7 separate regions of the Homo sapiens genome follow, and regions 2, 3, 4, 5, 6 and 7 are each linked to region 1. Evidence: promoter capture Hi-C in 16 types of primary human blood cells and fetal thymus (Javierre and others, 2016). All regions are on one chromosome and are shown on one strand. The core of a region is centred on a gene start or on the middle of the fragment in contact, and the rest is flanking DNA. Distances in the headings are between cores, read along the strand shown. Region 1 holds the start of BTAF1 (B-TFIID TATA-box binding protein associated factor 1). Region 2 overlaps XLOC_008559 (a long non-coding RNA gene). Region 3 has its middle 2.7 kb from the start of EXOC6. Region 4 has its middle 61 kb from the start of PCGF5. Region 5 holds the start of LOC124902480 (a long non-coding RNA gene). Region 6 overlaps PCGF5 (polycomb group ring finger 5). Region 7 overlaps PCGF5 (polycomb group ring finger 5).

Region 1 (4,196 bases), core at 459-2,958:
CTTTTTCCTTTCCTTTTAATGTAAATTCAACCAGAGTAGGCACCTTGTCTGTTCTGGTTTCTTCAGAAGTTCCAGTCTCTCATATGGTAGGTGCTTAATTTTGGCTAAATGATTGCTGTACACGATCAGTAAAAAGTATCTGCTTGTTATTGAATGGTGGGAGATAAACTGATGAGGCAAGTAGGTGACTAAAGTGAAAATGTAAAGATATCTTGAACATCAACTTGATTAGATTTTAATAGCATGAACACCGCCAAGCAGAGTTTCTGATACAGAGAGGTGACAAACATTTGTTGAATGACTGGACAATAAATATTATTACTAGCTTGAATCTTGAGGCAAATTACTTAACCTTTCTGAGCTTAGTTTCCTTGTCTACGAAGATTAAAACTAACTTTTCAAGGCTTCCCTACAAATTATATGGATAATGCATGTCATGTGCCCAGCACACAGCAGGTACTTGTTAGTTTCTTTCTCTTTACATACATATATACTACTTTATGGTTTACAAAGTTCTTGTAAGCTCTTCTAGATTCATGACCTCATTTTATTCCCACAATCTTCTGCAGTACTTCTCATTAGCCTCATTTTACAGATGAAAAACAGACTCAAGGATTGAGACATAGCCTCTTCAGGTAATGAGAAGCCAATGGACATGCTTTATAAGCATAGGAGCGACATGATAAAAAGCAGTGAGGTTTTTTGAAGATTAATCTGTTGGCCTATAAAATGGGCTGAACTGAAAATTGGAGAAATATTATTTTGACTACTAGCATAAAAATCAAGTTTAAGGGCCGGGCGCAGTGGCTCACACCTGTAATCCCAGCACTTTGGGAGGCCGAGGCGGGCAGATCACTTGAGGCCAGGAGCAGGAGACAAGCCTGGCCTACATGGCGAAACCCCGTCTCTACTAAAAAATACAAAAAATTGGCCCGGCGTGGGGCTCGTGTGCCTCCCAGCTACTCGGGAGGTTGAGGCACATTTAGAATCGCTTGAACCCGGTAAGCGCAGGTTGGCAGTGAGCCGAGATCGCGCCACTGCACTCCAGCCTGGGCGACAGAGCGAAACTCGGTCAAAAAAAAAAAATCAAGTGTAAGATGATAAGGGCCTGGCAGAAGTGTTTAAAAGCCTAATGAACTTAAAAATATTGAAAAGCCAGATAAGTCCCCCAAAGGAACAAAAATTTAAAAATGGTAGTTTTCAAATCTGGCTGGCTGAGAAAATGATGGTACAAACAACATAAACAATTGAGAAATCAAACTTGGCAAAATCGTTGGTCAGAAGACCTTCTCTCCAATACCTAGGCAGAACTTCTGGCAAATAATGACAAACATCTGAGCCATTTCTTCAGTGTCATAGCGACTTTTTGCTTTCACTCCTCCCACTGGCTTCACCACCTGGACAAGAGCATGTTAAGGTCCTTCTGATCTTGCTTCCTAGATGCAGTACGGTGGGAAGCAGAATCTGGGTAGTGTGGAATTAGAAACCAAGCTTTCGAAGTTCCAGGACTTGGACTAAATCGCCTTTTTCCTTCTCTGTCAAATAAGGGGACCCTTACTTCACCTCCTTCCCTAGTTTTAAGACTAGACACCCTCTCCACATCAGCACAAAGCGCTTTTATTTAGGCGCGTGCCGCCAAACCAAAGGCGCTCGCGCCGAGCTAAGCTCCTGTCGGTGAGCTTACGTCACTTCCGGCGCGCTGACGCTCAGTTGTGCGTGCCGACGCCCGCGTCAGCAAAGAGCGGAGCTGAGGGTACCCGGTTTGAAGTCGTGCGGGTCGGAGGACTGCCGCCTCCGCTACCGTCTTGGACCCCTGCTTACCGGCCGCCGCGGGGACGAGCTCGGGTAGGCGGCAGGGCAGATGCCCGAGGGCCTGCGCTGGAACGCCCCACGCCGCACCGGCCGCTCCCCTGTGCTCCGCGGCCTGGGCCTGCGCCGCTCAGCTCTCTGGAAACTAGCGCCTCAGCTGCGCGGCGCGTAGGTCGCGGGGAGCTCCGAACCGCCGGCGCCCGGCCATGGCGGTCTCCAGGTGGGTCTTGCTCCTGACGAGCAAACTGGAAGGCGATTCAGGGAAGGCATGGTCTCCTCTTAGAGCCCCCACTCCTAGAGAAGAGCGGTTCTCATTGTCACTGGGCTCTGGAGCTTTCTTCAGTAGACTTCGGAGTTCGCCCCGTGGTCGGCGGGGGTTTGGGCTCGGGTTACTCCTGGGTAAATCGGTTCAATAATGCCTTTTTCTTGTTAATAGACCCCTTGGCACGTTAGAGCTGTTTTTTCTCTTTCCTCACCATGTTTCTGTTCTCTGGTTTCTCTTCCCTCTTTCGATTCTAGGGGAGTCTCTTATCTTTCTCAGTATTCTAAGGCTGGTCCCTAACCTCCATTTCATGGGAAAACTTGGTAGTTACTGTCGATGGAGGGGAAACCTGAATTACTATTATCTAAGAGACCGTCTAATTATGTTACCAGTTTTAATTTACGTTTTTAGGGGTATGTTCTTTCCTGAGATGTTTTTTAAAATTAAGTATAATTTCTCCTTTTGTTTGGCAGTAAACATTCCAACGTCAGCGTTGTAACCTTAAGCCAATTATCGTATTAGCATCATTTTCCGTAACTAAGGCGTGGAAGATAAATCACAGATCTTATATTCTTTTGAAATATTGCCTGTCAACAGGAAAGCCCAGGAAAACTATAGAAAAACTAACGACATTTATTTGTATAGCTATAGGAGAAACATTACTTTTTCCTCCGGTATGATAGAATGGTTGGAAAGCTTTTGTAAGCGGAATTTGGTGACCCTCTGTACATGTAATTAAGGGATAGTTCCTCTGTGATAGTGATCGGATGGATTCACCAAGTTCCTTAGAGTTGATATGGTAACTTTTAATGAGAATTGGATTCTTTTACCATATAGACTGAAGGAATAAATGATGAAAACAAATAGTTTTCATTTTTTTATAATTAACTGAACACATTCTTTGAGCGTATTAAGTGCACAAGTTTTATCTGTTTTGCAAGGGAAAGGATAACCCATTCCTTACAGACTCCCTAGATGACTGATGAAATAGTGTGTGGGAGAAGCCCATGGGAGTTGGGTGAAGGGGGTTGCTAGGTACCGTAGTATGGGGCATCTGATTTTTATTTTATAATCTATTCAATGTGAGGAAATTTTTTTTTAAATAAAACTGCCTTGAGAGAATACAAGTGACATTTTACATTTTTGCAAATATAGAAAGGTGTATCTTCTAATTTGTTACCTCCCATATAAATGCATGAATATATACATTGTAAATGCATTGATATGTAAACTTAATATAACATTTATCAGGTAATAGTGTTTAAGGAGATGAGTACTTCTTTTCTTAGAGCAACCTGTGCATTTTCACAGGATTGGATGTAGCTTTATAAAGACAAAATGAAAGTGTTTAAAAAGAACCTAATTTTCGGGCAACGCTAATCTCTTTTTTTTTTTTTGAGAAGGAATCTGGCTCTGTAGCCCAGGCTGGAGTGCAGTGGCGAGATCTCGGCTCACTGCAAGCTCCGCATCCCGGGTTCAGGCCATCCTCCTGCCTCAGCCTCCCAAGTAGCTGGGACCACAGGCACCCGCCACCACACCTGGCTAGTTTTTTGTATTTTTAGTAGAGACGGGTTTCACCGTGTTAGCCAGGATGGTCTCGATCTCCTTACCTCGTGATCCGCCGGCCTTGGCCTCCCAAAGTGCTGGGATTACAGGCGTGAGCCACCGCGCCCAGCCAACACTAATCTCTTTACGGAATTTTAGGACAGTTAATATTTCTCAATGACTGAGTGGGTTTTGAAGGTACTGTCTTTTGTTCTGGATGTTGTGTTTCAAAGAGTAGCACTCTTTTTCTGTGGATTTTTTTCTCGTTCACTTTTTTAAAAGCCTGTCATGTTTTTATGGAAGAGCTATTTCTGTGCTTAGTTTCCTTGGGCTCAGTAGTAAGCCCAAGGAAAACATTTTGAGACACTTGTGTGTTTTGGGGATAGTGTCAATTCTTGACTTTTTCACCTGTGGATTTCTTTGAATGGCAAATTTTAGTTTCAAGCTGGCCTTCTCCATGCACGAAGCACAGTTCTGTGCTAACTAAACTTCCTTTCTCTCCTGTTGGTGCAGACTCATTTTAATACTATTTTACGTAAAATAGGTGGAAAATAGCCCAGGAGATAAAAATCATATGCTA
Region 2 (4,196 bases), core at 538-3,037, 940 kb before region 1:
GATCGTGAGGTCAGGAGTTCGAGACCAGTCTGGCCAACACGGTGAAACCCCATCTCTACTAAAAATACAAAAATTAGCCAGGTGTGGTGGTGGGTGTCTGTAATCCCCACTACTCAGGAGGCTGAGGCAGGAGAATTGCTTGAACCCGGGAGGCAGAGGTTGCAGTGAGCTGAGATGGTGCCACTGCACTCCAGCCTGGGCGACAGACCAAGACTCTGTCTCAAAAAAAAAAAAAAGTTATAGTTTAATTTTTAAGGTTAATTTATTATTGAAGAAAAATTTTTAATGAGTTTAGTGTAGCCTAGGTGTACACTAGGTGTTTATAGAGTCTACGATAGTGTACAGTCATGTCCTAGGCCTTCACATTCACTCATCACTCACTAACTCACACAGAGCAACTTCTGGTCCTGCAAACTCCATTCGTGTTGAGTGTCCTATGTAGGTGTATTACTTTATATCTTTTGTACTATATTTTTACTGTATTTTTTCTTTGTTTAGAAATGTTTGGATACACAAACACTAGTGTGTTACAATTGCCTACAGTATTCATTCAGTACAGTAACATGCTGTTGCAACCTAGAAGCAATAAGCTACACCATATAGCCTAGGTGTGCAGTAGGCTACACCATCTAGCTTTGTGTAAGTACATTCTTTGAAGCTTGCACGATGACAAAATTGCCTAATGACACATTTCTCAGAACATAACTCCATCATTAAGCTACATAACTTAAACCCCTGCTATGCAATGAAACTCAGGTAGCATATTAAAAAATAGATAACTCAAGCATTGCATACAGAGAAGCCATTCTTGGAACACCAGACAATAAGCATTGCATTAGATCAGAGCAGTTCTGGGCACATCTATGGTCAACAAGAAATATTCTCAAAGTCTGAACTTTGAGCTATAGTAGACAGACAAACTAAGAATTCCTCAAAGTTAGTATTTCCAACCGTGATGTAAGAGTCTATTCTGAGTGTTGTGACAAACTATCTCCAGATCTCGCTAGAGTAACACAATAAAGGTTTGTTTCTCACCCATCACAGTCGGGTATGGCTGTATGAGGGAGGCGTGAGGAAGGATCTGCTCCTCGCCCATCACAGTCGGGTATGGCTGTATGAGGGAGGCGTGAGGAAGGCTCTGCTCCATGCATTCATGGAAGTGGCCTTGATCACCAGCCTAGCACTTCACTGGCAGGGCTCAGTCAATGACATCTAGTGGCTGGGAAGCTCGGAAATGAGCTTTCCTTTGTGCTCAGAAGTAGGACTTGGGCGAACACATAGCAGTATCTCTGCTCCATCCACATAAACGGGCTCAGAACTTAAATGGAAAGAGACGCTGAAGAGGGCATCAAATATATGAGAACTGGAACAGGGAAAGGAACAAAGATCTGAACAGGATCAGATAGAGATATTTGCCTACAGACAAGTCCTTGGTTAAAAGACCGTGGAAATTGATTCTAGAACTATATATTATTTATGGCTTGTGGGACGCAGAAATGTGTTCTGGTTACCTGTGCAATAAACTGTACATACTTCTCATTTCAGAGTTGGAGTCAATCACTCTCTGTTGGCCTTTTTTGCTGTCTTTACAAAGTCATGGGTTAACGAACCCTACTGGGTACTTCTAACATGAGGTGTCTGGGCTGGGAGAGTCTTACTGGCAATTGATGTCAAGATTCTTCGTCCAGAGGCACAGAGCAGAAAGGTTCTTGGTCCACAGACACCTTAAAACAAGGCCACCCTGGCCAGGTTTATTCCCGTCTGGCGGCCTACACATTTCTTATATCCTGGAAAAACTGGTGAGCAAGCAAGTGTCGACCTCAGAGTCTCTGACAGGGCTATTTTGAAACCACACACCATGAAAACTCTCAGGGAAGTTAAAAAACAAACAATCATAACCAAGGCAGTTTAGCTGTTTTGAAAAGAGATGGAGCTTCATTACTTCAAACCCAAATTTCTGCAAGCCTGACAACCACCTTACATCAAAATAAACGTCTACCTGCTAGCTGAAATGTTTAAAAACACAGGTGAGCTCTATTCTCTGAAATACAAGCCTTCTCTAACCTGAGAAATGTAAATACCTATGAAGGTGGGTCCATGAAGGGGAGGTTGATGAGGATGGGCCTATGTAAGAGTGTGTGTCAAGGTTGTTACTTGTATTTGTGTTACCCTGTGGATGTGTGTGTGTGTGTGTTTGTGTGTGTGAGAGAGAGATTCAGAGCAGGAAGAGGAAGGCAACTCACATGGATCCATGTTTTTCGTAACACTGTGTGAAACTCCAGTTAATTGACTGTAAAAAAATAGGAACCCACAAGTAACTGACATTAGTACCGCTGAAAGGCTCCCAGAAGACCTAACTCTTGCTGGCTCCATAATCACAAGCACCTGCAAAGCTCTGCCTTGGTGAGGAGAGGGCAGAGCACACCTGCTAACCGACATCTGCCTGGAGGAAGGAAAGACAGAGCTTCAACCCTGAACACAGAGTGCTGGTCTCTCTTATGTGCTTGACTGTCATGCTCAGTTGCATTGTGCATGAGTCTGCCTGTCAGCCTGCACTGAATTTTGCAGCACTGTTCCAGGGTTTACTATCTGCACTCTGTTCCCAAAGACCTGTTGCCCCTACCTGTGTGCTCCCGGAGGAATCTGGTTTCTATAACAACAGACCCCATCACCAGCGTGGTGCACAAGGCCACCTGCCAATCCATTCTGATTAAGCCCAGCCCTCAGCCTGTCCCCTCCAGACCTGTCACACCAATTCCCATTCAGGCACCAGCACTGATCATCAGTATTTCCCAAGAGTGGAAAGGGGAAAATAGAGACTCAGTAAATATATGTAAATAAAAGCAGAGTTTTCGTAAGCCATTCTAATCTTGATATAGTTTGCATTTCCTTCACTGTTGCTTTATAAAAGCCCTCTTAAGCTTGCAGCAAGAAGAATAGGAAGTCAGCTGTCAATTAGCTTACTATGATGTTTTCTCAGTCATATTTTGAAAGAGAAGTTGAATTCAACATTTTCCAAAAATCTGCAAACAGCAGCATGCTGCATTTATGGAGATGACACCTTTTGTGGGTTTTTCTCTTTCATGGGTAGGATTTTTCGGAGAGACCACACTGGGAGAAGAGAATAGGTGAGGAGTTGCTCTGTGAGCTTGCTGCAATCTGGAAGGAATAAAGTTGCAGAAATAGGAAATTGGAAGCAGAAATAGGATATAGGAAAGTCTTAAGGACTACGATTTTTGTATTGCAACTAGATTCACCTTTGCAGCCATCCTTTTAACAAGACAAGCCACTCAACTAATACATGCTCTGAAGGAGCGAACAGAACTGACTAAACTAATACAGAAGCAGGGGCTCAGTGGCTGCAGGTTGCATGAAAAATTACCCATTGCAGTTGCAGGGCCCCATTGTGAGCACCGGTCCTCTAGGAGAATGCTGGGCTACTTCTTTCTTTACCAATTGTTGCTAAGAGCAGGTGACCTCACATGCTGTTTTAGCAACTCTTACTACTGAGAATTATTCTCTTGGGAAGTTCAGAAGCTGGCAAAATAAATCTTTGTATTCACTCTGCTTATATTCTGACAACACTGACTAAAATCCTCTACTTTGAAAAGGAAATATTCTTCCCAGGCAAATGCAACTGATGAAATAGATTCTCTGTGTGTGGATTTGAAGGTGTTAAAGTAATGATACTAATTGCTTTCATTTTGATAAGCTTTACAGGCTCCAGAGTTCTCTCACGAGTTCCATTTCATTTGATATTTGCAGTTACCATGTGAGGTAAGCAGAGCTGACCTTGACTGGCATCTCTATCAGCAGCTCAGTGGGATTAAATGGCTTGCCAATGTCACAAGGTGAGAAGTTGACACGAATTGCAATGCAAATATTCTGGCAAATAAGTTAGCAGGCTTTCTATTCTACCATTCTGCTCAACTTAAAAAATAATCCTGTGGATTTTTAAAACTGTAATGGCCACTCATGCACAAGCCCCTGGAATATTCACAGGCTGATGAAAGCAATCTATTTTGGTGATTCAGGGAATATTGAGCTGCTGGTTTTGAGCAAAAGCAGCTGATGCAAATAAGCATGATATATTCATATATTCATCCATTTGAAAGAAATCTGATGGCAGGAATTTTCTCCCAACAAAGCAGATTCTAGGATGTGCAAGCATCTGTACACACGCATGTCATTCTCTG
Region 3 (4,196 bases), core at 882-3,381, 920 kb after region 1:
GCCTGTAATCCAAGCACTTCGGGAGCCCGAGGTGGGTGGATCACGATGTCAGGAGTTCAAGACCAGCCTGGCCAAGATGGTGAAACCCTGTCTCTACTAAAAATACAAAAATTAGCCGGGCGTGGTGGCTGGCACCTGTAATCCCAGTTACTCGGGAGAGAACTGCTTGAACCTTGGAGGTGGAGGCTGCAGTGAGCCGAGACTGCACCACCGCACTCCAGCCTGGGCGACAGAGCGAGACTCTGTCTCAAAAAAAAAAAAAAAAAAAAAAAAATTAGCTGGGCGTGGTGGCACGTGCCTGTAGTCCCAGCTACACAGAAGGCTGAGGCAGGGGAATCACTTGAACTTGGAGGGCGGAGGTTGCAGTGAGCCGAGATCGCGCCACTGCACTCCAGCCTGGTGACAGAGCAAGACTGTGTCTCAGAAAAAAAAAAAAAGGAAAAAAAAGAAAAACATGCCATTTACAACATTAAGCTTAATACGACAAGTATTTGCATGTGGATCATTCACTTATTAATTGAGCCTCTACTATATGCAAGGCACTGGGCTGGGCAGTGAACAATACAGGCATCGTCCCTGTGCCTGATGTAGGAGCAGTTCCTGGAAATGGAGACAGACTCAGTGATTTGTTCACCACCATGATATGTGCTTCCAAGGATGAGTGAGCACTGCTCCCAAGGACAACGAAAGGTGCTTGCCTTAAAAGCGCAGGATCCAGAGGGTTCACTAAAATGGGTCTGGAACCAAGAATCCAACCCAAAGACATGTTCCTGTTTCCCTCTCTACAAAAGCAGGAAACATATTTCAGTTGGTTTACATCCACCAAACATGCAGAAAACCCTGATACACAATCAGGTTTTTTTTTAATGATTAGGAAAAAGAACATTTATGTGTCTGGTTTTTATTTTTATTTTATCAAAGAGGAGGCTAAAATGCTGGGCTCTCTGGCTTACTAGCAAATGCCTGATAACCCTAGTCGCCAATGCTAATGTTGATTGAGCTCTAGGCTAAACATAATACATATATTATCTTCTTTAATCCTCACATAATTTGGTGAGCTAGGGATTCTTATTGTCCTTAATTCACACTTGAAGAACGTGAGCCTTAGTCAAGTTAAGTAACTCCCTGAGGCCTGACATCTAGTAAGAGATGAGTTGGAATTTGAATTCAAGTAGTTAAATGCCAGACCAGAGCAGTTGCACTCTACAACCTCATTCTGAGGGAGGCGCTTTCCCAAGACAGGTCATTAGTCTGTAGATAAAAGGCGCAAAGTTAAGTTCCTAATGACTAAGAGTTTATTTACAAGTCAAATCCTTACTTTGCCAATTACTTTTATACTGGACACAAAATGCATCTCCTGTCCTGCTGGTCTTCCTGGTGTATCTTTCTTCTTCCAGGAGTCCTGAAAAGAGATTTTGGATTGATCTCTGGAAGTCAATATCCACTGCCAAAAAATAATTCCACATGCATCTGCAATCTGCCTGTCTGTGCCCTGCTACTCCGCAACCTTCTCAGTGCAGACGTTAAATCATTCACTCCTTGGGGCTGGGCGTGGTGGCTCATGCCTGTAATCCCAGCACTTCAGAAGGCCAAGTCAGGGCAATCACTTTAGGGAAGGAGTGTGAGACCAGCCTGGCCAACATGGTGAAAGCCCATCTCTACTATAAATACAAAAATTAGCTGGATGTGGTGACATGTACCTGTAATCCCAGCTACTCAGGAGACTGAGGCAGGAGAATCGCTTGAAAGCGGGAGGCAGAGGTTGCAGTGAGCCAAGATCGCACCACTGCACTCCAGCCTGGGCAACAGAGAGAGACTCCATCTCAAAAAAAAAAAAAAAAAAAAATCATTTATCCCTTGGATAGGCTTCCCCCACCCCACATTGACATATTTGATATATCTATGTCCATGATTAAAATGTACAGTTAGGGCCGGGGACGGTGGCTCACGCCTGTAATCCCAACACTTTAGGAGGCCGAGGCGGGCAGATCACCTGAGGTCGGGAGTTTGAGACCAGCCTGACCAACATGGAGAAACCCAGTCTCTACTAAAAATACAAAATTAGCTGGGCGTGGTGGCACGTGCCTGTAATCCCAGCTACTCCGGAGGCTGAGGCAGGAGAATCACTTGAACCCAGGAGGCGGAGGTTGCAGTGAGCCAAGATCACGCCATTGTTACCCAGCCTGGGTAACAAAAGCGAAACTCTGTCTCGAAAAAACCAACCAAACAAACAAAACAAATGTGCAATTAGTTATTTAGGACATTTAGCTTTGAATTCTTAGCTAAAACCTCCAGGTACTCACGGAACTGTCAGAAGTCTCAGAGGGAACCAGCAAAAACTGTTTCAGAAGGAGAAGTGGTAAATGGACTTCCTTCCATGTTCACTTGAATTTCGGGGAAGATACTGCTGCTTATGTTGAAGTAATCTCTATGGGCAGGTGTTGAAACAGGGCTGGCCTGAGGAGTGCCTAAGCAGGGCTGGTTTCCCAGAGCAGGGGCACTTGGAGCCAGCTTTGGAATAAAAGGTATCAGGACTGGTGAAGAAAAGGGGTAGAGTTCTAGGGAAGGAATGATCAGGAAAGTAATTCCCCAGCTGGAGACATTGGTCAAATAGGAAACTGGCCTGTGCCACATGCCCTGCTCTCCTCATTTTGCTCATTATCATAGTTCACCGCAGCCTCGAACTCCTGGGCTCAAGCAATCCTCCTGCCTCAGCCTCCCAAAGCTCTGGGATTATAGGTGTGAGCCACTGTGCTCGACCTAAGAAGTTCTTGAGAGGGGAAAATAACCTTTTGAAAATTGAAACTGAAACATAAAAAAAAGAAGACAAATTTTATCCCCTCCCACAAAAAGAATGAAAAGCTAGGTCTCTCTGCAGGAAATGGAAGACTGTCTTAGCTCAATGGATGTGTATAGCTGGAATCCATTGCTCTGAAGATTCCAGATTAATAGGAAGGAGGGCATTAGCAATGTTTTATAGGGCCCTTCCTAAGTTTGGTAGGCAGTGGGTCCCACTGATGCTCACATTCTAATCCCTGGAACCTGTGCATATGTTATTTTTACATGACAAAGGGGGTATTGCATATGTGATTAAGGTTAAGGACCCTGAGATGGAAGATTATCCTGGATTAAATGGTTGGGTCCACTCTAATCATATGGGTCCTTAAAAACTGAGCATCTTTTCCAGCCTAAGTCAGAGTCAGAGGAAGATGTGACCACAGAAGAATGGTCAGAGAGATGTAATGCTGCTAGCTTTGAAGATGGAGGAAGGGGGCCACAAGCCAAGGTATGTGGGTGGCCTCTAGAAGCTGGAAAAGGCAAAGAAACAAATTCTCCCGCAGAGTCTCTAGCAAGGAACACAGACATGCTGACACCTTGATTTTTAGCCCAGTGAGACCTGTGACAGACTTCTAACGTACAGAACTGTAAGATAATATGTCTGAGTCATTTTAAGCTACTCAATTTGTGGTGATTTGTTAAAGCAACAATGGAAAACTCATACACCATGGGACAGCAATATGAGGCAGACACTGCCATTGTCATTTACAGTCATTTAACTGACATATAAAAGAACTAGGTTCTTGCCCAATGTCACACAGCTGTCAAGTGATATTAATCCAAGAATTAATGTCTTCGGACACTGGTCTTCAGAGCTCATGCTCTAACTATTGCACAATACCACCTCCCAGGATGTTTGTGGGGAGGAGGCTGGAGGTAGGTTTCAAGTAAAAGCTCACTAAGGGTGAGTGAGTTACACAGCTGGATAAAGAGCTTGGTTGACTCAAAGGGAAGCTTTTCAAAGCCCTGGATTAATGTAGAGCAGAAAGTAGTTGTTCCTCAGGCTAGGTTTCCATTCTGTTCCTGTTTAGTCTTCCTTCCTCCCTGCTTTGATCATGACAAACTGGTTTACTCAGTGTCCCACAAACATGTCATTAAGCACGACTTTTTTCTACACTGATACCTTTGTCCAAGCCTCCCTGCCTCTCTCTCCCACCTCCCTGCTGCTAACCCCCTTTCAAGAGCTCTCACCCCTTCTCAACCCAGCTACTCTGACCTGGGGGCACCTGAGTTCACGGACTTTGGTATGAATTACACATCGCCCTGGGCCTTTTTTTTTTTTTTTTTTTTTGGTATCTCTGCCATCAAGTGTCTTAACTTCTCATCATTTAATTTTTTATGTCGCTTATAATTTATTT
Region 4 (4,196 bases), core at 1,096-3,595, 760 kb before region 1:
TTTAAGAAATGACTTAGGCAGGATTAATTAATACACCCATATGTAGAATACAGGCTGTTGACAATTAACCTAAGAAATCTAAAGTAAAATGTGTAACAATGAAAGTCAAGTAGACTTTATTTATAGGAGAGATAAGCTTCAGTTTGTGTGGTGTGATATGAAGGTGTTGGGAAAGTCCAGCTGCCCCAAAAATGTCTTCCTGATCTTCTTAAAATACTGCCTGGCTTTACACCATTAAAATAAACCTCTTTAAATGTACTTCATAATATAAAATGCACATTTATTTCACATTCAGCTGTTACCATGCTTTCCGGTGCATTAGGGTAACAGGATGACAACTAGCTACGGCGAACTGAGGAGACAAAGATTTGAAGGGGGAGGAGGAAGGGATTCCTTTGGTATTTGGTGCAGCATTACTCAAGTCAGTCAGTTCAACAACATGTGGCTGCCTATTATACTCCAGATATTGAGCTAGGTTCTAGACATTAAAAGGCAAGTAAGTTGTGGTTCATTGCCTCAAGATGCTTATGGTCAAGAGAGAGTGGACTACATAAAGGTCATGGGGCTGGAGGAGTTTTGAAAAGTGGGACCAGCGACTAGGTAAAAAGGAAGAGGGACAAAGAAATTTGTTCTCTTCCATCACAACTTTGTTGAAGAATTAGATACCCCAAACAATGCTTTTTCTTGGTCCCAGTGAATCCCCCTAAGGAACTACTAAAATTTAAGCTGGTAGAGTTGACACCCTGTAGGCTGAAGAATAACAGATAATTTGAATATCTTTAACTCAATATTTTTGGCCCTTTGAAATTTAAATTAGTAAAATTTTACTATATCAGAACTTGTAACCTAAACAGTTGACTATAAAATACAGGTTTGCTGATAATTTTTCCTGCTCCCTTTCTCCCCTGGAACTTCACAGTATGCTAAGATTGCTGAGGACTGGTGGGGGGATCCAGGGCTAGCAGAAGCAGGAAGCAGGAAGCAGGAAATGTAGAGAAATTGGAGCTAGAAAGATAACTGAGCACTTCTTTAAACAGCAGACTAGAGGAGCACCATATCTTCACAGATGGTGTTAAACAAGCATCATAAGACATAGCTTCAAATAATGCAGGGAACATACAATTAGGGCCACAAAAACTTGGGGTACCAGTTCTAGTTCTGGTATTTACTAGCTGGATAGCCACAGGAAGTCATAATTTTTTTTTGCCTATATTTAATGAGTACTGTCTATATGCCAGGCACCTATAACATGTCTATAATTGACTGAATGTTCATGGCTCCCCTCAAATTCATATGTTGAAATCCTACCCTCCAGTGTGATGGTATTGGGAGGTGGGGCCTTTGGGAAGTAATTAAGTCATGAGAGTGGAGTCCTCATTAATGGGATGACTGCCCTCATAAAAGGAACCCCAGAGAGCTCCGAGGCTCAGTGTCTTTTCACTATGTAAGGATACCATGAGAAGTCAGCACTCCAGAGGAGGAAGAAAGGCCCTCAGCCAACCCCTGACTGTGCTGGCACTCTGATGTCATACTTCCAGCCTCCAGAACTGTGAGAAATGAATGTTTGTTGTTTAAGCCACCCAGTTTATGGTAGTTTGTTATGGCAGTCTGAACTGGGCAAGAGTGTTTTACATATGACGATATTTCATTCTCATGACAACCCACTGAAGTAGATTCTATCATTTTTCTCTATTTTATAGATAAGAAAACTTACCCACAGATAATTCAAGGTCAGATAAACTAAAATTTGTTAAAGTAGGGATTTGAATACAGGTAGTCAAACTCTAATGCCCATGTTTAATCATTATGATATCCCAGGTATTAAGTCTTTTGGGCTTCAGTTCCCTCACTTAAAACTGGACACGTTGCACCAAACAATGTTGAAAATTCTTTCTGGCTTTAAACACTATGATTCTAATTATATAAATCATATCTATATTTAATACGCTCATGGTTAATCTGTGTTTCGGAATAGTCTCAGAGAACTGAGAGCTGAAGACAAGTTTCTGAAATATGGCTTCATTTCTTAGTTATCCCTTGTTTCAGTCAACGTAAACCACATAATTTACTCTTCCACCAAGAATACCCTTCCTCCATTTCCATCTGTTGAAAATCTATCCATCCTTCAAGTGCCAGCTGAAATGCACCTCCTCTAAATAGCCATTCTCAGTCTTTGGGGATTTAAAGTGCGGATGTATTAGACTGTTGGGCGTTGGGATTTGGGCGAAGTATCTGTGCTAATGAAAGGAAAAGATGTAGGATAAGAAGAAAGGTTGCAGGGAACCACGTACAGGAAAGGTAAGAGAACCGTCAGCAGTGTTGTTGGTGACGGGCACAAAGCCTTCCTTGTGACAGGCAATAGCAAAGTCACCAGATTATATTAAATGTTGCCCAGCTAGTAGGAGTGAGATGAAGATTAAATGAGAACGTTTGTAAAATATCTACTACACTGTCTGGAAGGGCAGCAACAGGATAATTCCTAATCTCTTCCTTCCATAGGCAACTGGTCATCTCCTTCATGCTGAAGAAAGCTGCCATCCTGCCCAGGGAGGAGTAGGACAAGAAGAGGGGAGAAGAGACTCTGGGGGGGAAAAGAAGTCAGGCGGAGATATATGGGAACACAAAGAAAAAACGAGAGCCAGAGTACACAAGACGAGACAGAAAAAAGAAATGTAAGGGAGTGACGGCGAAGAAGAGGATAGAACGGTAATGGAAGCAGAAGGGCAAAGAGGGACAAGTAAGAAGGAGAGAATTCTAGGCCTCGGGAAGAGAAAGTTCCTGCTGCACTGCGGAATCCGGCCTAAAGGAAGAGGCAACCAGGTGCAGCACCCAAGCCCAGGTGCCAGTCATTTGCCGCTGGGCTCTCAGACCCATTCTCCTTTTGCGGCTGTCACATATTCTGTAGGGATTCTGAGCCCTGCCCTCTGTCATCTTGTCCACTGGCTTCTCCTGCTTTCCACCACTGGGTGGGCTTGGAGGGTGGGAGGCAGGGAGAAGCCAGGGGGACTCTCATCCCCTACTTTGGAAGATGTCTGCCGCAGTAGTTGCACTAACTTTGTGGCTCCAACTCCTATTGGACAAGCCCTCCAGGGTTCCGGCTGTCTCCTCTCTTTGCCCCTCCAGCCTCAGGGGAGAAGGCACGTCCAGCAGTTGCTAATCTCAGGATTGCCTCACCTTACCCTAGTTGAACGTCCAGTTCTTTCAACACTTGTAACTAATTTGCTGCATTAAATTATTGCTATTGACTCGCTTGGGAAAGAATACTTTCGCTGGATTCACTTGCAGAGTTCAAAGACACTTTTCCTAATGGGACTGCAAGCAGCGCATCGGAGAAAAAAATCTAGCAGTCCCAGGAGTCAAGAAGGGTCAGGGTCTACTTCAGTGTGTGATCAGACAGCGACAAACCCACACTACCTAACAGGGCCGGAAGGCTCTTAGCCTAGGAATTAGCTGTAAAATGACTGGGTTCATGTCTACTTTTTCATGATTTACTCTATTCTCTTTGATCACCGCCAGCCTTGGCTTAAGGAACATCTCTGTAGAATTCAATTTTATTCCTCAAGGGTTACTTAAGTGCCCATTATGAGTATGGAGGGCACATAGCTAGGTGTGGTGGGGAGGAGATATAGAGACGCAGGAAAAATGGAGGGCATGCTCAGTTTTTGGAAGTGTTTGCTTCCTGCAAGATGAGGTTTGCGGACCTATCAGGAGAGCCTCTTGATAAAGACTCCTGAACTTTTCCAGTCTCACCAGAGCTGCAGACACTCGGAGGCAATATTAGTCTTACAGCTTTCATTTCTCCCATCACCAGAGCTCTGTTAAAAGCAGACTCCTCTTTAAGGAATCCACAGATCAGAGAGGGTACAGCACATGCACACAACTGACCCCCAGGTCAGAATGATGCCAGCCACAAGGGGGGATTCTGCTTGGGGGAGCAGGAAGACTGCACAGAGATGGTAGGAGACGGCTACAGGAGCTGAGTCCAACAAAGTTTGACAGGTGGAGGCGGCTAAGGGGTATTCTGGCAGAGAACAGAGAAGGATCAAAATAAAGTGTCAAAGGACAGACACATTTCAGGTGTTGTCTGTAAACGGAGGCTTTGGGGTGAGGGTAGGGAAGTGGAGGGGAGACTGAAAAATGGAGGCCCAGCTATTGAGGACTCTGAGAATGAGGCATTAAGGCTCGAGGCCATGGTG
Region 5 (4,196 bases), core at 542-3,041, 720 kb before region 1:
CATTTAGGAAAGAGTTCTCCTGGTTCTCAAGATGTTTCATTCATTCAATAAATATTGATTATCTACTAAGTGCCAGACATTGGGGAAGTGAATCCACATCAGTGAACAAAACAGACAAAAAATACGTGCCCTCACAGAGCTTACATTCTAATGGGTAGAGATAAATATATAACATTTTTACTTTTCAGGCAATGAGAAATACTGTGGAGAAAAGTAAACCCAGAGAAGGGGAAGAGAAGTGTCAGATCACGTCATTTTATGTAATTATGTTTCCTTGGATTTCCGTCTCTCTAAATTGAACCCACAGTCCTTACAGTGGCCCAGAAGAGCCTGCGAGACCCATCCTGTCTCCCTGACCTCAGTCCCATCTGCTCATTCTCAACCACACTGGCCCCCTTGCTGGGGGAACCTTGGACATCAGCATCGTTCCTGCTTAGGACACTTTCCTTTCTCTCTGTGTAGTCACTCATCCTTTTGATAACTATAAGACCAACTTCCTTACCTGTTTTGTGGTCTTTACCCAGATGCCATCTTCTCACTAATGCCTTTGCTGACACCTTGTTTTAAATTTCAGTCACCCTCCTTACCTACCCCTAGTACCCCTACTCTCCTGGAGGTCACCCCAAACCACTATTTCAGCATGACCATTGGCAAAGCAGCATCACTGGCTTTCTCTCTAGAAGGCAGACCTGCCTACGGGCTGCAGAGTTCAAGCTTGTCTCTGTCCTTCGATCTTCTTGGGAGTTTTCTGTAAAGGCCCTGATTAGTGGCAGCACCATGGGAATCTCCCTGGCCTATTCAGTAGCATTGAATCAATCCTGAGTTTAATTAGCAGCAATTGCCAGGATGACGTTTTGGCCTTGTCATACCACGGGGCAGTACCTCTTAAGGATTGGATGTAGTTTTGTGCAATGAAGAGCCCTTCTTCAGATGGGTTATTTCTACCCCATGGTCTTTGGCTGAGTGTGTTTCGTATTAGTCTTCTTCCTTTTCTTGCCAGGCCATTCTTGTTCTCCTCCTCTCTCAGATGTTCTTCTCTTTCATCACCCTCTGTGATTGCCTCATCTGAGTTCTTAGCTTTCAGTTTCACTGGCCATGCTGACCTTTTATGTATTTATTGTTTTTGTTCAGAAACTGAAACTGCATCACATACATGCTGGTTTGTATCTGTCTCTCCCATTTTATTAAAAGCCTAGTTTTTTCTTCTGTGTCTCTACCACTTTCTGGGTCTTACAGCATTCAAGGGATCATCCCTGCTTCCACAAGCAAAGTTCCAGAGTCTGTGAATTTTATGACATAATAAACAAGTAGAAAATGTACTTGTCACAGGTTGGGTTCCCTGGGAAGCTGACTCCCAGGTGTAGTTTTGTATCCAGGATGTTTATTAGGGAATGCCCTTTGAAGGGTGGGAAGGCAGCAAGGGGGGCAGAAAAGGAGTTGAGCTGTAGAGCCAGCATGGCAGGAGCTCTGGAACTAGAATGACTCCTCTGAGTTGTCTTGACTTGGGCCAAGATGGCCAGGCCTTTATACTCCAGCATCCCTCAGTCCTTGCATCCTTGGGAAAGTGACCTTGGGCAAGGAGGATCTTTGCAGCTGAGGACATGCCTGCAAGAGGCCAACAACATCCCCATCAAGTGCAGCCCAAAGGCTTCTCTGAAGAGGGATCTGATCTCTGCTTCCCAGCATCTTCCACATTAATGTACGTGAAATTCAGCCACGGCTCCAAAATATGATGCAGTATTTTAGTTAAGAAGTAACATTCAAGGCTAGTTTTAGTTTAATACTGAAATTTGATTGAGTTCATTGAAATCCTAGGATGTTAGAGTCCAAAGAGGCCATAAAAATCCTTTATGCAACCCTCTTGTTTGACAGATAGGGAAGTGGAGTAAATAAACAAAGGAGAATAAATTTTAGTGTGGTTTCCCCAGAAACAGACCCCAAGACAAGAATTTGAGAGTAAGTGGTTTAGTTGAGAGGTTCTCCCAAGAAATATCAACAGGAAAGTAGAGAAGTGGGACAGGGAGGAAAAAGAAAGCAATAAAGGGTATAGTTTCAAGAGAATTACTGCTGTGGGCAACTGGAGCTCAATCCGTTTAAGGAACTCTAGGAACTAGTCTACACGCTTCAGGCTATCCTACCCAAAGGACAGGGAAATTGGGTTACTTGCCCATCAACTATCCATCCTCCTTGACTGAGGGCTGTTTCCTGGAGATGCTAACTTCCCTGCATTTTTGCCTCACTGTGGGAGAGGGCCCAGCCTGCTCCCAGAGCCAGAATAAAAGCCACAGGTGTTCAAGAAGGCTGCCTTCAGCATGTAGAGATGAGCGTGGAGGAGATAAGAGGGAGGAGGAGACAGTGACAGTGTCTGCTATAGGGGATTGCCTGAAACTGAACCAGAACTCTGGTATCCTGACTACTGACCAGGGTTCTTTATGCTGATTATTAATATCTTCCTACTCGGTGCCCAAAATTGTTCAACTAATCTAGTTAAGAGAGAGTGAGGGTATAGAAAGAACAGGGGATGTAGCCCCTTTCTGGGAAGTGCGCATATATGTTTGAAAGAAGAAGAGAAGATTTTATAAGCATTAATATCAACAGGTATGGATGAGATTGCATTGAAAGCTGTGCATTGCATTTGTCATTGTTGAGGTGCTGCTATAAGGGACTGTGCCAGAAGGGAAGGTGCTGTTTGTTTTGTTTTGTTTTTAAGATATTGAGTCTTGAACACAGTCTCAGTGGGAGATTTGAACATAATTGGCAGAGGCTGAGAGGCAGGATTGTGTACTGGTGAAGAGTTGGGGGCCTTTCTAGTGGGCAATCTAGTTTATCCTATATTCATCACTTTGTGGTCATTGGACAGTGGGCAAATTAAGCTTTGGTTTCTTCCTGTATACGGTGGGGCCAATTATAGAACCCAATTCATAAGGGTGTTGAGAGCATTCAATGAAGTAATTGATGTAAAAATATTAACCTAGAGCTTGCTGTGTAGGAGGTTGATAACATTAGCTGTGTTCGTGATTACTGTTGACAGAGGGAAGTGGAAAGGGGGAGGGTCAGGTGGGAGAATGGTCAGAGCTTGGGCAAGCACAAGATTCAAGAGGCAAATGGAAAAATAGTGTGAAGTGGAACTCCTGAGACACCAGGGAGGTGATGGGGAAAGTTTTATAAAAGTGAGAAGAGCTGCCCACTTAGACCACATTTTCATGGGAGCTGTCTTAGTTTGTTTTCTGTTGCTACAGCTGAATACCTGAGACTGGGCAATTTATAAAGGAAAGAAATGTATTGCTTACGTATCTGGAGGCTGGGACATCCAAGGGTGAGGTATCTGGTGAGGGCCTTCTTGCCGGTGGAGACCCTCTGCAACCTTCTGAGCTGGGCATCACATGGTGAGGGGCTGAGTGTGTCAGCTCAGGTCTCTCTTCATGTAAAGCCACTAGTCCTATCATGGTCCCCCCAGTGACATTACTAATCTTAATTACCTCCCAAAGCCCCACCTCTAAATGCCATCAACGTATGAATTTGAAGATTAAGTTATCAGCACATGAAATTTGGGGAACTCATTCAAATCATAAACAGGAGCTTAGGTCCCATCAAAGTGAAAGCTTACCAGGAAGCCCAATGTGTAAAAAAAATACGTAAACAGAGTTATGTGTTTGAAGGTGGAGTGGAGAACTATCTTCTCCCCTCCTCCCTCCACCCACAGCCCCTGAGGGAATTCTGAGAAACCCCAAGGCAGCAAGAACAAAAACAATGTCTGCAGAAAGATTTTTTAACACTACTGTAACACCTCATTTGTTCTGTATTGAGTTCATTTTCCAGAAAACCTTTTTTTTTTTTTTTTAAGAAACCCATCTTGGATGAAATTTTGTTTAAGTGTGTTACTTTTTTGCCTTCTTAACAAGGCTGAATGAAAACCTTTTAATCTGTTCTTGATGACTTTTGATCATAGTGATGAACATTTAGTTAAGGTTCTGTGCTTTAATGTGGTGATTTCCAACCTCAGAGTTTCTGAAGTGTTAGGACTGTTTACTGGCACTATGCTTTTGAAATTGTTAGAAGAAGCAGGGTGGCATCAAGGGAGGGTCCTGGACTTGGGAGCTACACTGTCCAGGATTATATCCAAGCCTTGCATTTTATTAGCATTGTGACCAGGTGTAACCACTGTTTGCCTCAATTTCTTCTTTCCCAAATTGAGA
Region 6 (4,196 bases), core at 1,113-3,612, 680 kb before region 1:
TTTTAAAGACATAAACTCAGAGATAATAAAAACAAGATATCCTGTATCTTTGACAGCTGGGATAGCTCCTCATGATAGGTTCTCAGTAAACACTTTTTAAAGGATAAGAAGAAATGGTAGCAGAAGAGATGTCAGCAGAAACTGAAAGCTAGAAAGCAAACTGGTGATGGTGATAGTTGAGCGGACCTCAGAGGCCTGAGTATACCAGGAGACTAAGGAGGTTGTGGGGAGGGGAAGATCTTTACCAAAGTTTCCTACAGCAGGCTTCTTTTTAGCCAAAACTAGGTCACATGACAGCCACTAGGTAAAGGGATGTGGTGGGTTTTGAAATGCTTTAACAAATCATGAATTATCCCTGAAGGTGGCCACATTGCAGCCAGAACATAATTGGATTTTGTTAGCCAGAAATAAGGGGAATTTAGGCTCCTTCATTAGAAGCCTAAATTGCCTGTGACACATGTAGCAAAAAATTTACCTTCTATGTACTTTTTCTCAGTAAGCTATTGGGAGATGTGCTGGAGCATAAACCAAGAAAGAATAAATGACTCTAGCATAGCAGAGAGGTGAAGGGATATGACAGTTGTGCAGCAGGCCTGGGGAACAAGCAGTCTGTATTTGTACTCTCCAGTATGGTAGCAATTAGCCACATGTGGCTCTTAAGCACTTTGGATGTTGCTAGTGCAACTGAGGAATGGGATTTCTAATTTAATTTCAATTAAAACCTGAAGCAGTGTAAATATTTTTCCACTAAATATAACTTTATTGTTCAATAAATAAAAATTACTAAATGTATTATTAAAGATATTTTAATATATAGCAAAACATTAAAGTTAGTTTTATATAAAAAGTATAAAGTACTGGTGTTAATGTTCCTACTAAAAATTTAAAATTACATATTTGACTCACATTATATTTCTATTGGTCATCACTTATATAGACAATAGAAGGAAGATGGAGAGCTCCATGAGGGGAATCATTCATTCAGCAAATATTTACTGGATGCCTGCTGTGTCTGGGCACTATTCTAGGTGCTTGAGGTCCATTCGCAGACAAAATAAAGATCTTTGCCCTTGTAGATTTAATATTTTTGTAGTGAGAGACAGTCAATAAACCATATAATAAGTAATTTATATGGTATGTTAGAAAGTGAAAATTGCAAAGGCAAGAAAGAGGAAAGTGTTGTGAGGTGAGGAGGTCAAGAGTGTGAAGTGGGGGCAGATTGCAATTTTAAATAAGATGGTGATGATAGGCTTCTGTGGGAAAGTGAGACTTAAGCGAAGACTTGGAGACTGTGAGAGGTTAACCATGGATAGGTCTAGGAAAGCATGCCTATTCCAGGTAAAGGGAGCAGCCAGTGCAGAGTGCCTAAGTCAGGAGTGTATCTACGCCTTGTTGGACGACCAGCAAGGAGACCTGGGCGGCTGGGGAACAGTGAGTGAGGGACAGAATACTGGGCAACAAGAGCAGAGAGATCATGAGATTCCAGATTATGAAGGGCCATGTAGGCCACTGTAAACATTTTATCTTTTACTCTGAATGAAATGGGGAGCCTCTGCAGGATTTTGGTTGGAGGATTGATCCGATATGAACATGTTGATGACTGTGTTGAGAACACCGCGCGTATAACAAGGCAAGGGTAGAAGCAGGGAGAACAGTTAGAAAGTAATTGCAATGACCCTGGTGAGCGGTGGTAGCAGTAGAGGGGACAAGAAATGCTCATATTCTGAATATATTTCGAAAGTAGATCCAGCAAGGTTTGCTGGTGGATTGGATATAGGATATGGGATAAAGAAAAGAGTTGAACATGACTTTAAGATTTCTGACCTGAGCAACTGGAAGAATGGAGTTGCCATTAACTGAGTTGGGAAGATTAATAATAGAGCAAGGAAGGGGTAGATCAGGACTTCAATTGTGGACATGCTGAGTTATTCATTTCAGAGAAGAGAGGAAGGTAAGTGGATATATGTGTCTAGAACTCAAAGGGAGAGGTCTGGGCTGGAGAAAAACATTTGGTAGTCTTCAACATATAGAAGGTCTTTCAAACTGTAAGCAGGATGAGATCACTTCAGGGAGTGAGTACAGAGAGGCACGAGTAAAGGACCAAGGATTGAGCCCTGGAGAACTCCAGCATTAAGTGTTCAGAGAGAAGAGGAGGAGCCAGCACAGGAAACTGAGAAGGCACAACCAGTGAGGTAGAGGAAAATCCAGGAGTGTGTGGTGCTCTAGAAGTCAAGTGAAGATAGTATGTATATCAAAGGAGACGGAGTGATCCACCTGTGTCATTTGTTGTTCATGGGTACAAGTAAGGTGAAAACTGAGAATTCATGGTTGGATTTAGCAACATGGAGTTCATCAACTTTGAAAAGAGCACTTTCTTTAGAGCTGTGAGGCCAAAAACCTAACTGGGTTGTTTTAAGAGAGGAAAGGAGGGAGAGGAATTAGCAACAGTGAGTATAGTATTGACAACTCTTTCAAGGAGTTTTGCTACAAATGGGAGCAAAGAAATGGGGTGGGGGGGTGCTGTCAAGTGCAGCCAAGAAGGTTCTTTATTTTGTTTTGATATAGGAGAAATAATGGCGTATTTGAAGGGAATGATCCAGTAGAAAGCAGAAAGTTAATCATGTGGGAGAGTAGGGAATGCAATCTCACAGCCTAAGAGGAGACACTGGTTTTCAGTGGGAGCATTGACAAAAAAAATTGTAGCAACAGGCAGGCAGACAGCGAGTACATGGTGCAGATGCTATAGGTAGGTATGGTGGCCGGGGCCTGTGGAAGTTTGTTTTTCATTGCTTTGACATTTTTCATTGAGAAGAAAGTGTTTGTCAGTCAAAATTAAGGATAGAGGAAAGGGATTTGGAGAGTTAGGGCGAGAAAAAAGCGTGTTGTCCAGGGGAGTGAGAGGATCAGTGCACTTGTGAGTGTAGTATGATTCCTGGCAAACTTAAAGGCATGTTTGTGTTGTAGTTAGGAATTTGAAGGAGTATGGTTGTGTTTTTATCCAGCCATGGGTGCCAGTGCAGAGTTGATGGAAAGTTGGATTTAACCTGAGTTGTACTAAATAATTTTGAGCAAGTAAGAGAGAGACAAATCAAGGGTACATGTAAGGAAGTGATTTAATGACTGACCATAGAACAGATTAGTCCTAAATTGGGCTGGAAGGACAGAAAGGGCATCAAAGTAGTAAGTAATGTTTCAGAGGAAACAGAAATGAAACTAAGTTGGTTCCTGATCTGTTTGTATGTAGTGAGAAGTGCTGTTTTTTATTCACTCCTACTATTAAATAGTCTGGGAAAACTTTACGAATGACCTTGTCTTGAAGAATAAGGTAGCATTGGTTTGGTCGGAGAGTACAGAGAGTATTTGAGCCAGGATGTAAAACATGAGGGAGAAAAATGAATTGGAAAAGACAAGGAATTCTTGGGATAATTGAATAAGCCAGTTGGCTAGAGAAGGGAGACAGTGAGCAAATAGTACCAGTTATGGTTTGTAGGTTGGACTCAAGTTATATAAACACATGAAGTCAGGTAGTAGAGAGAAATTAGTCCTTGAGCAGGGAACTAACACAATCAGATTAGCACTTTAGGAAGATTGATTATGAACATGTCTCTGCTCTGCTCAAAGCAGAATGGTAATTAATTGAAGGAATGGAAGAATTGTTGGGAGAATAGGTGGGACAGATATTGAGAGGGAGCTCTGAATGTGGCTTGGTGAGTAAATGTGTAAATGAAGGGAAAGAGAGAAGTTAAGATCATTCTCATATTTTGAGCTGATTTGGAAAAATTATGGTATCACTTAAAAATTTAGTTTAAAAAAAGCGAGACAATGACTGGGCTACTTAGTATTTTATTGGAGGAGGATAGATGAGACAATCTTGACATAGATTAATAAAAGGAGGTACTTGAAATGTTTAGCATCTGTTGGAAATATGGAACTTGAAATCAGCAGAGATGTGATATATAGTCAGGCAGATAGATAGATGGATAGATGGATAGATAGATAGATAGATAGATAGATAGATAGATAGATAGATAGATAGATAGATAATCTGCCTATATGTTAGTTTTGAAGCCACAAAAGCAGATGAAATCCACAAGGAAGACAGAAAAGGTCAAAGAGTTCAGAGTACAAAGCAAGGGAGAATATCAGATTTAAAAGTAGCTGGGAAAAAGAAAAATGCTTAGTAATAAAGAAAGAAC
Region 7 (4,196 bases), core at 585-3,084, 660 kb before region 1:
AAATTGCTTTTATATTTACCTATGTGTTTATTTAGTTATATACCATTATGTTACTCAAATTTAACAATATTAGAAACTAAAAAAGACAAACTAGCTTGGGAAGGAGAAGAAACTGGTTTTTCTTGCTACTGTTTCTCCTAGCACTCTGATAATTGGTCCTATGTATAAAATCAAGGTCTGTGGTAAATGTGATTGTATTAGATTTAAAGTGAGATTAAAACCCTATCTAAATATGTTCAGGACTCTACTAACCAAGACAGAGAAAATGACATATTTTTTAAACCCAATAAGTTGTTGGAACATTTATGTATATGGAATGGGAGTGGGGGAAACTTAAGTTCTCCCCTAATATGATTAATGGTTGATAAGGGTGTTTATTTTTGGTTGTGGTAGAGGGGACACATAGGGTAGAATCTAAATAATCTTCTTTCAGGTACCTCCTTTTCGTTGAAAATATAAACTCGGACTTAAGGGTAAGTGAGTTTGCAGTGCTTTCTGATGCCAGAATTAGATTATTGTGCCTTAGGCCCTAAGCATATGGGAGAAATGATTCAAAGGAGAAAACCAAAGAAAACCCAAAAAACCCAAAAGGTGAATTTTGTATTTTGAACTATGTCTTTGATTCTGGTTAATTCTGTAGGACTAATATATAAGACTGAGATATGAGACTAAGGAATACAGTAGTAACTTAGGTTCTACTAAGTTCTATAGTAGTAACTATAACTTAGGTTCAAGCATGGGATATTAGGCAAATTTGAGGTACTAGGGATTGTAGGACTCATATATGACACTAAGGAATATAGCAGTAATGCTATCAGAAATTATCTTCATAATCTGAGTGCATAAATAAATAAATATGAATTAAGATTGGCTATAAGGTTGGAGTAGATAACATCTAAGATTATCTTTTGGACATTAAGATTCTGTGTTTATGATACAATATGCCATACTCTGTGTAATTTATTCTGTAAACTAGATTTATTATATTTTCTCATGAAAATGTAAATCATAAAAAAAAACAAAATTAAGAAATTTGACCTCACACAAGAATAAGAAATAAGAATCCAGATATAATGAGGGTTGCCATGTTACCATATTTCCAAAACATATTTATATTGAATGTAAACATTTGTGGAATTATTATAAAACAAGCCTCAAAAACTCATTGTCTTATGGGTAAGATATTTGGCTCTTTGCAGAAGAAATGTCTTGATATCATATAATAATAAATGAAGCACCTACATTTGTAAATCAGAAGTTTTTTTCCTGCTTGAGATGTAGTAAAAGCCCTGCTTAAAGCCTTCTTTGTGAGACTGAACGCTTTCGCTAGCAGCAGGAAGAAAAAATTACATTCTAACACCAGCCACCAAATAGTGTGTGGCCTTGAAGAACTTGTCATACATGTTTGTGGCTCATATTTTTAAAGATCTAACTACCTTTGTATTTGGTAAATTAACAACCTGCCTTTCTGTAACATTTTATAATGTTTTAAATGATTGTACATACATCAATCACCCTCAGTTAATCCTTACAACCAAAATGTTCCAGGTACCAGGTACAGATTGCACAGGTAGTAAATTCTTTCTTACCCAATACTGTTGAGGAATGGATATTATGATATTACACATAATATTGTGTTGAATGTAACTTCAGCTTTCTTTGATAGTTTAGCGGGCATTGCAGTGTGTTTTAGTGACTGAAATCATCGTGATGAATAGACTTGCCTTAAGGTTAAAGAGATGTAAGTGGTCATCCACTGCACGACCTCTACAAGTGGCTCACTTGTTCTTTACAAGAACTCCTCCCAAAGTTGCCCCAGCTGCCATTATTTTAATGTCAAAGTATGAAAGAGCTAATTTATAGACATTTTTAGTAAGAGACTATGATTTAAATCAGTCCTTACTCTAATTACCTTTCTGATTACATATTTGTGAATAGTTTAAATTTTTTGGTTGTTTAAGGCATATTTTAATAAAAGTTCAAAAAGTGATTCAGTAGCTATGGTTTATCATTCAGGTGGAAACTAAACCAATAAACAGAAAAATTACTACCTTTTACATTTAGTGCAACAGTAAAGTAATATATTAGCCCATTTCATTTCTTGGTGTGACAAACCTGTTTTTTAGTTGCTTTCCTTCTCCAAACCTGTTTCACCCTCAGTCATCACAACCTCAATAGTTCTAAGATTGGTAGCTCCATTTTTCCAGTTGCTCAGACCAAAATCCCTGATGTCAGCACTGATTGCTGCCTTTTTCTTTCATCCATCCTTTCTTAGCAAATTCTGTAACCTTCACCATCAAAATATACATTCAGAATCCAGCTATGTCTCACTACATCCACTTCACTACTAGTCCAACCCACCATCGCCATTCTCCTAGCAAGGCTCTGTGCCACCACCCTTGTCCCACCTCTATCTTCACCTCACACAGCAGCCAGCGTGATCCTCTTAGGACAGGTTAGAACATGCCCACTCCGTTCTCTGATTCCTCCAATAATGTTTAATTTAGGTAAAATTCAGAATCTTTCTAGAGACCTACATATGTGGCCCCCATACAGTCTTCCCCAGATACTCTGTCTCCTCGTTTATTCTGTCTCCCTGGCCTCACAGCACTCCAGCCACACTGGCCTGTTTTCTCAACCACACCCCACTTGCCCTCACCTCCCCTGGTATCCACCTACCTCGTTTCCTTTACCCCCTTCACTTAAATAATTTTGCTTCTACCTCACCTTCTCAGTGAGGCCTCTGACCTCCTCTAAAACTACAACCCCCTCTCCCGATGGCATTCTTACTCCCTTTTCATGCCTTATTGTTTTCCATAGTATTTCATACCACCTCCGGCATATTATGCCTCTTATTTATGTTTATTGTTTGTCCTCCAAGTAAAATATAATCTGAGGACAGGGATTTTTGTTTGTTCACTGCTAAATCTCCAGCACCTAGGGCAGTGCCCAGCATATATACTCAATCAATACTTGTTCAAAGAATAAATTGAATGAAAATGTTATCTTTTACAAGGTAATGGTTATGCAAAATATATCCTACAGATAATTTTTATTTATCTGAATCTCAGCTTCCTTTTTTTCTGTTAAATTTTCAATTTTTGTTCAACTTCCAATTACAAATTATTATAATATTAATAGATGAATTCTGACAGTTGAGTGACATGGACGAATGCAGCAGTATCACTAAAACAATCATTTCTTGATTGAGCTCCTGTAGCATATTGTTGTGATCACATCCCTTCTTATTTAATCATCCACTGCCAGCAAGATGCCAGGATGTCTGAAGAGCTCTTATTAGTCTACCTATTGGCTAACTAGCTCTGCCTTGGGCTGGAGTCAGCTTATTTCCTAAACTAATGACCACTATGTGGTTCTTTTTCTTGTTTCTATTGCTTTTTTGTATTAAACATTTTAAGCTACCCAAGATTAATTTATTTATACAAAAACACAAGGTTAAGATTCTAATTTATTTCAAATTGTTTTTAAATCAGAAATACAATGTATTGAATATTGAATAATCCATATTTAACCTTATTGTTTTGAGATGTCACCATGTCTGTGCGTATGTGTGTATATGTGTGTGTGTGCATATGTGTGTGTGTGTTCCTAGACATTGTTTTGTTCTTGTGAGCAGGTCTTACTCTGTACCAGCATTACACATCATCTACCTTTTATAAAGATCTGGCCACATAACACCCCTATCTAAAACCCTCCAGTTGTCTACTTTCTTTGGGATAAATTTGGATGAAGTTTAAACATGTTTTATAAGGCAAATAGTTGGGCCTTCTAGGTTGCTTTATGATGTGTATTAGTACCTATTAGGGAAAAATCCCCAATTATTCTTTTGAAAATTGTGTTGACTAGTTTTACCCATTTATTCTTCCAAATGAGCTTTAGAATAGGATTGCGACTGGCATTGCGTTATATTTCTAGATTGATTTGGCTGGAATTGGCATCTTTGCGGGTTTTTTATTCTATTTGGCACTATGGGATGTCTCCTCATCTATTCTACACACTGTGAGTAGATCTGTCATTTTCTTTCCTCCTCATATTGGATACCACTCTCTGCCCCGTGGAGTCTTTCATCTCTGACAAGGGTACTCCATATTCAGATTACCCCTTTATCTTGCTCTGCTTCTAGCCTCTTAGGAAGAATCTCAGGATAATTGATTTTGCCTCAATTTCTCAAGAAT

Evidence for each region. The method cuts DNA at HindIII sites, captures the fragments that hold promoters and counts their contacts. A CHiCAGO score of 5 or more calls a contact.
Region 2: a contact is called between a fragment that was not itself captured here and the fragment with the promoter of BTAF1 in region 1, in 1 of 17 cell types (fetal thymus). The highest score is 5.5, in fetal thymus.
Region 3: a contact is called between a fragment that was not itself captured here and the fragment with the promoter of BTAF1 in region 1, in 2 of 17 cell types (naive CD4 T cells and non-activated CD4 T cells). The highest score is 5.5, in naive CD4 T cells.
Region 4: a contact is called between a fragment that was not itself captured here and the fragment with the promoter of BTAF1 in region 1, in 4 of 17 cell types (naive CD8 T cells, fetal thymus, naive CD4 T cells and 1 more). The highest score is 7.9, in naive CD8 T cells.
Region 5: a fragment that was not itself captured here is called in contact with the fragment with the promoter of BTAF1 in region 1 in 5 of 17 cell types (naive CD8 T cells, total CD8 T cells, activated CD4 T cells and 2 more); the score reaches 7.0 in naive CD8 T cells.
Region 6: a contact is called between a fragment that was not itself captured here and the fragment with the promoter of BTAF1 in region 1, in 1 of 17 cell types (fetal thymus). The highest score is 6.1, in fetal thymus.
Region 7: a contact is called between a fragment that was not itself captured here and the fragment with the promoter of BTAF1 in region 1, in 1 of 17 cell types (naive CD4 T cells). The highest score is 5.4, in naive CD4 T cells.

The regions. Positions count from the first base shown.
Region 1 is chr10:91,922,062-91,926,257 of GRCh38, forward strand. It overlaps BTAF1 (B-TFIID TATA-box binding protein associated factor 1), which reads left to right and starts at 1,709. Exons shown (of 38, transcript NM_003972.3): 1 at 1,709-2,029. The coding sequence starts at 2,016. RefSeq lists enhancers at 451-984, 1,332-1,441, 2,052-2,251 and a silencer at 1,692-1,991. The HindIII fragment of the contact is 1,276 bases long and covers 1,490-2,765 here.
Region 2 is chr10:90,981,695-90,985,890 of GRCh38, forward strand. XLOC_008559 (a long non-coding RNA gene) reads left to right here. Exons shown (of 6, transcript NR_131214.1): 4 at 3,766-3,851. Among named protein-coding and RNA genes, the nearest start is that of XLOC_008559, 36 kb to the left of the region's middle. The HindIII fragment of the contact is 2,263 bases long and covers 657-2,919 here.
Region 3 is chr10:92,843,728-92,847,923 of GRCh38, forward strand. It overlaps a transcript of EXOC6 not described here. Among named protein-coding and RNA genes, the nearest start is that of EXOC6, 2.7 kb to the right of the region's middle. The HindIII fragment of the contact is 3,318 bases long and covers 473-3,790 here.
Region 4 is chr10:91,158,055-91,162,250 of GRCh38, forward strand. It overlaps a transcript of PCGF5 not described here. Among named protein-coding and RNA genes, the nearest start is that of PCGF5, 61 kb to the right of the region's middle. The HindIII fragment of the contact is 4,422 bases long and covers 135-4,196 here.
Region 5 is chr10:91,197,899-91,202,094 of GRCh38, forward strand. LOC124902480 (a long non-coding RNA gene) reads right to left here and starts at 580. Exons shown (of 3, transcript XR_007062240.1): 1 at 503-580. It also overlaps a transcript of PCGF5 not described here. The HindIII fragment of the contact is 2,159 bases long and covers 713-2,871 here.
Region 6 is chr10:91,242,979-91,247,174 of GRCh38, forward strand. The region is part of intron 3 of PCGF5 (polycomb group ring finger 5); the gene reads left to right. Among named protein-coding and RNA genes, the nearest start is that of PCGF5, 24 kb to the left of the region's middle. The HindIII fragment of the contact is 9,970 bases long and covers 1-4,196 here.
Region 7 is chr10:91,264,523-91,268,718 of GRCh38, forward strand. The region is part of intron 8 of PCGF5 (polycomb group ring finger 5); the gene reads left to right. Among named protein-coding and RNA genes, the nearest start is that of PCGF5, 46 kb to the left of the region's middle. The HindIII fragment of the contact is 5,208 bases long and covers 1-4,196 here.